Regions from separate parts of the Homo sapiens genome. Here region 2 is linked to region 1. The links are contacts of gene promoters, found by promoter capture Hi-C in blood cells and fetal thymus (Javierre and others, 2016). All regions are on one chromosome and are shown on one strand. The core of a region is centred on a gene start or on the middle of the fragment in contact, and the rest is flanking DNA. Distances in the headings are between cores, read along the strand shown. Region 1 holds the start of OR11H6 (olfactory receptor family 11 subfamily H member 6). Region 2 overlaps LOC124903278 (a long non-coding RNA gene).

The links. Contacts are between HindIII fragments. The CHiCAGO score rates a contact against its expected background, and 5 or more counts as called.
Region 2: a fragment that was not itself captured here is called in contact with the fragment with the promoter of OR11H6 in region 1 in 1 of 17 cell types (erythroblasts); the score reaches 5.4 in erythroblasts.

What each region holds. Positions count from the first base shown.
Region 1 is chr14:20,222,146-20,225,184 of GRCh38, forward strand. OR11H6 (olfactory receptor family 11 subfamily H member 6) reads left to right here and starts at 1,565. Exons shown (of 1, transcript NM_001004480.1): 1 at 1,565-2,557. The coding sequence starts at 1,565. The coding sequence ends at 2,557. The HindIII fragment of the contact is 8,071 bases long and covers 1-2,325 here.
Region 2 is chr14:19,926,641-19,929,679 of GRCh38, forward strand. All of the region lies in intron 2 of LOC124903278 (a long non-coding RNA gene), which reads right to left. It also overlaps a transcript of OR4K1 not described here. Among named protein-coding and RNA genes, the nearest start is that of OR4K1, 2.8 kb to the right of the region's middle. The HindIII fragment of the contact is 380 bases long and covers 1,351-1,730 here.

The DNA.
Region 1 (3,039 bases), core at 315-2,814:
GATAATTATTATTCATTAAACTGAACTGCTTGGACAAAATTTACATTTTCCTAAAAATCATGTTTATTAGAGAAATTGTTGTATTATTCTTAAAATATTGTTAACATGAATATCCAAAGTTACCTCGGCAATAAAACATTTATGCTTTTGGGTTTGCTCCAGGTTTGATCAAGTACTGAAAGGCAGGCCTCTCGCTCTCTGTGGATCATATAAATGATGTAAAGATGGAATTTTGTGAGTATCTTAACAGTGACGCTAATAATACAATAAATTATCCTAATTTTAAAGTCATTATATTGCTAAATTTAAAATATTGATAGTGGCTTACCCAGCCAAATATTCTGAACTTTAACAAGGATATTTGAGGACACAGAAATAAGCCTGCTGGACCAATAGTTTCTAGAAAATTGTTAGCAAAATATCTAAGTTATTTATCTTGTCTCAACTCCTGATTTAGAAAATATCAGAAAGATCTTTCTGTTCTCTGCACATCCTGAGGTGACTCTTTTATTCATTATTTAATTTATGGAAAAGCAAGATAATGAAGGGACAAATTATAAAGTTTAGGACTTAATTTCTAGCAAAAATAAAGGCACATGGCTTTATTACTAGAGAAATTGATTTACCCAACAGCAAGCTCCCTCAAGAGCTAAGTCATGATGTAGAATAGTACAATTTGTTGGAGAAGGAGGCTGACAAGCAGGGAAAATGGTGGCCTGCCAAAGAAGTCATAGGTAAGGGACATAACAGCTGCCTTCAGTTATTTAAGACCTCACTACCACCATCATGGGAGAGGAATTAGACTTATTTTGTGTAGTTTCAACAAAGTCAAAGTTTACCTGCTGACTTGGGGAGTACCAAGATCAATGGGTAAAAGTAATAAAGGATACAAAGTTTGCTCACCATAAAGAAGGGCTTTGAGAGAACTAGAGCTCCTCACGAGAAAAAGGGGCTGGATTATTCAGCAAATCCAGATGCCACCAGGGAGAATGTGATCTGGGGGGAACTAGATTTGTAGCTTTCAGACCATTTTACAGATTCCTAAGGGTTCTGCAGCACCTCCCTGAGAGTAGCAAAAGGAAGGGAGCTGAAGACTCCCCAAAGTTTAATTCCTATCTGCTTTTTATTGGACTTCTACATATGAGGCTCTAAGAAGGCAATTTTAATATAGCAACTATTCTTGCTTCAGATTTATACTCAATTTTGCTTTAAAGTAAAAGAATATATCCAAAGTTTATATTTATATGTAGAGTATCTAAGGGGCAGTGATTTTACCATTAAAGATGAAACATTACTGAGACTCAGGGTTATAGAAAATTTGAAGTGAAACATGATTTGTTCCAAACCAATCTCCAAATAGGCCAGTGTATCTGGGCGTTACTGGCTTTGTACATATGTTTAAGTGAACCCTTCTAATCTCTTTGAACTTCAATTACCCTGTCTGTGAAAGAGAAGGGTAAAGAATACCTCCTCGCAGCTCAAAGAGTCATTAGGAAGACCAAATGAGATAATGTATGTAAAAATACTTAGTACATCATCCAGCATGAGTTAGCAAAATCTCCAAATGTTCTTTATTATTCATTCTTTGGTTACTTCTGTTTTTCTAACAGCTTTGGGACCCCAGAACAGAACAATGCATTTTGTGACTGAGTTTGTCCTCCTGGGTTTCCATGGTCAAAGGGAGATGCAGAGCTGCTTCTTCTCATTCATCCTGGTTCTCTATCTCCTGACACTGCTAGGGAATGGAGCTATTGTCTGTGCAGTGAAATTGGACAGGCGGCTCCACACACCCATGTACATCCTTCTGGGAAACTTTGCCTTTCTAGAGATCTGGTACATTTCCTCCACTGTCCCAAACATGCTAGTCAATATCCTCTCTGAGATTAAAACCATCTCCTTCTCTGGTTGCTTCCTGCAATTCTATTTCTTTTTTTCACTGGGTACAACAGAGTGTTTCTTTTTATCAGTTATGGCTTATGATCGGTACCTGGCCATCTGTCGTCCATTACACTACCCCTCCATCATGACTGGGAAGTTCTGTATAATTCTGGTCTGTGTATGCTGGGTAGGCGGATTTCTCTGCTATCCAGTCCCTATTGTTCTTATCTCCCAACTTCCCTTCTGTGGGCCCAACATCATTGACCACTTGGTGTGTGACCCAGGCCCATTGTTTGCACTGGCCTGCATCTCTGCTCCTTCCACTGAGCTTATCTGTTACACCTTCAACTCGATGATTATCTTTGGGCCCTTCCTCTCCATCTTGGGATCTTACACTCTGGTCATCAGAGCTGTGCTTTGTATTCCCTCTGGTGCTGGTCGAACTAAAGCTTTCTCCACATGTGGGTCCCACCTAATGGTGGTGTCTCTATTCTATGGAACCCTTATGGTGATGTATGTGAGCCCAACATCAGGGAACCCAGCAGGAATGCAGAAGATCATCACTCTGGTATACACAGCAATGACTCCATTCTTAAATCCCCTTATCTATAGTCTTCGAAACAAAGACATGAAAGATGCTCTAAAGAGAGTCCTGGGGTTAACAGTTAGCCAAAACTGAGATATCTTTGAAAAAGAAGCCAAATTGGCCACTTCTGACCTTAATTTTTTATAACTATAGAGAGTAGCTTCAGTAGTATGTTCTGGCTCACACTCAGGTAGACAGACTTATCTTTCACAGTTCCTTAGCAGTTAAATTCAGCTCATTAATGATAAATGCCAATGCTCAATAAAACATTTTAAACATATGTGGCCTCACTGAGTAGTTATGTGGTGGGTGGGTGTATATATACGTATATTATTTTTCTGTGATGTATCTTTGCTAGTTTTAATCTTAGCTGACAGAAGAAATCAATTGCATGTGTACTGAAACCTTTCAAAAGAGTGAGATCTGGCTGGGCACGGTGGCTCACGACTGTAATCCCAGCACTTTGGGAGGCCAAAGCGGGAGGATCACCTGAGATCAGGAATTCGAGACCAGCCTGGGCAATATGATGAAACCCTGTCTCTACTAAAAATACAAAAATTAGCTGGGCGTGATGG
Region 2 (3,039 bases), core at 291-2,790, 300 kb before region 1:
AAACTGCTTCATAAATACTACTTTAGATCAATTTTAGGTTGATTCATAGTATTTCCAGTTTTCAGTGGGTCCCCGTACTAACTCTGGTCTTCAGTGCAAACTGCCCAGCCATTCAGGCTATGTCGACCAGAAATCCAATGAAATGGAGATATCCATGATAAATAAGGACATTGTGTAGATTATTTACAAAAGTCAATTAGATAAATAACAATACTTTTAGGATTCCAGAAAAAAAGCTCTGCAGAAGCCAACTGCTTACTATTTAAAAATAGATCTTAGTATGCTGTTGGGTCTTATCAGGGACTAAGTACCTGACCATTGATTTCCAAGTGACTGCCTACATGAAAAGCACTGCTCATCATGAACTGTTATCAGATTTATTAAATCATAATTTCTAGCTGCCACAGCAGCAAGCCATCACACATTGGAAATGGCATGTGTAGGACCACGCTGAAGCAGGTATAAAGGCACTAGGAATTGGTATGAACAGATAGTCTAAATCCCTTATCAAGTATTTCTGTGGCATTAATATATTTTCTTAAGCTCAATATTATGGCCTCATGAGAGAGTTTCTACGGATGACTTCATTCTATGCCTTGGTGCAAGCCAAAAAATGGGACTGCTGCTGCATTACTACTCACTCAGATGACCTTCATGGACACTCAGGAGGAAGAATTCTCTCATTGGCCAGAGCCATAAACATTGCACTTAGTTATCAGATTTAGATGGAGAATTGGTCATAAGTAAAAATAAACATGAATTTGTGGGCTTTGAAAAATGGCTTTGCTAGCTTGTTAGGGGTCTTGAAGATCAAAATTGAAAATTGGAGGAAAGTAGTCTGGGAGGGAAGAATGAGGATGAACGTATGTGAGTGGGCTCTAAGTGTGTAGATTTTTGTACTTTACAACAATGCCTATCAGGGACCAAAAACATGGACTCTCTTTTATCAAGGTTAGTCTCATACCACTGCTACAGCTCCTGAATGCTTGGTCTGTTGGCAGAAGGGAGTCATGCTGCAACCTTGTTATGGTGCCATTCTGCAGAAAGACCACATCCATTTGGTGGCAAATCAACTGTATCACACCCCTTCCTCTGAAGGGGGGGTAGTGATTTGTCTTTATTGGAATTCATTCCTATTCCTGATGTGAGTTTTCCCTCTCTACCTGTAGTCCTTCTCCCCAGACACAATTCCAGGGCACACAGAGTGTTTGACATATGGATATAGGATTCCACAGAGATTGTCTCTGGAATTATAGACAAAAGTATTTACAGTGAAGAAACTGGAATTTATTGAATTTACAGTGAAGAGGTGTGACAATAGAGACATATCATGGATCCATTTTTCTGGGAAGCTTCCAGCCACAAACAAGATTGGAATGACCTTTAAAAGCCTCAGATAAAAGTCTGTTGTTGAGATTATACTCACATTTTTTGAGATGGTGAACTCCAAAATGTAATATATTTGTTGAAATGACAGTTAATTTGCAATTTTGTGTCACCAGTAGCTAAAATACTCACAATCAGATAACAAGGAATAGACAAGGCATAGATTGGACTCTCTCTGCATCATTCCCATTGATCCACTTATGGATTTTGTGGTTCCTGTCCCAACAATTCTAGGATTTACTATGATCTTGCTTATTTATTTATTTTATTTATTTATTTATTTATTGCTAGTGGTTTATTGAATGTCTTGCTTCTATGGCTAGAACTATACTTCAGTTATGGAAAGCTTTTAGCCAGGATCTCTTCAGCTATTGTTTTAGTCTTGTGCTCTCTTCTTCTGTGACTTCAATTATGTTTATCTTTCTCCAATGTGTCGCTAATTCATGTCTTGTCTTTGCCACCTTTGCCAATTTAACTGACAATAGAAAGCTTTTTTTTAAAATTCCTATTTGTTTATTTTACATTTCTCTAAATAATAAATAGGGTTTTTATTTTTAATTGGGCATATTTTTTGCCTCTTAAATTAAAATGTTACCTGTTTTCTACTTTAAGTATGTTTACTAAGTATAAAATGTATGTTTCTATTTAGATTTTCATTGACAAATAATTAACATATTTTCTCCCCAAATTACTCCAAATTATGTTGACATTTTTTCAATCTGTAAGGTAAAGATGTCTTATTATTGTCATAGAGTTGCAGAGTATTTCTGTTCTTTTGAACTCCTTGTGCATCTGCTCATTTTTCTACTTATTGATATTTCTTTATTTTAATTACTAATAATATTTTGATTTACAAGGAATTAGTCTCATTGGTCATATATGTTGCACATATTTTATAGTTTGCTTTTTTATTTAATGTTGATTGTGGGTTTTTTTGATATATCAAATCTAAAAATGATTAAGTCAATCAATTCTATCCATTACATAGCCATATATTTATGGCTTCTTTAACATCATGCTTTAGAGGCCTTACCAACTCCAAGATTATAAAAAAATCTTCACGTGCTTTTTTCTAATTTTTAAAACTTAATCTTTGATCCAATTAAAATTTATTTTGCTTTTATAACTGTATGCAGATAGAAATTTACTTTTTCCCATGAATTTCATTTATATAGTAATCTACATTTCTTTAAATTATTATAAATATTATTATATAGTTTATACATATATATTTGGTTATATTTCTGGATACTATTCTGTTTCATTTATTTTTTATATATAGATATATATAATTAAAATAATATAATATGTGCATTTTATACATATCACACTCTGTGTGTGTGTGTGTGTGTGTGTGTGTGTGTGTGTGTGTGTGTGTGCGTATGGGGGGAGAGAGAGAGAGACAGAGACAGAGAGCATGGACCAAAATATTTCACCTTGGAGCTTTTCTTATTTTTTTTGGTAAAGTTACTTCTGGTTATTTTTCTCTTGCAAATATTTCTTGTCTACTGTCACACAATTTATCTCCTAGTAATCTTTGTAGGCTATTTTAATAATGGTTATTTTATGCAATCAAAAGAAATGATTTCTAATCATCCTGAGCAAAATGGAATTATTAGGAGGATTTGGCATTATCTGCATATTTGATAGTAC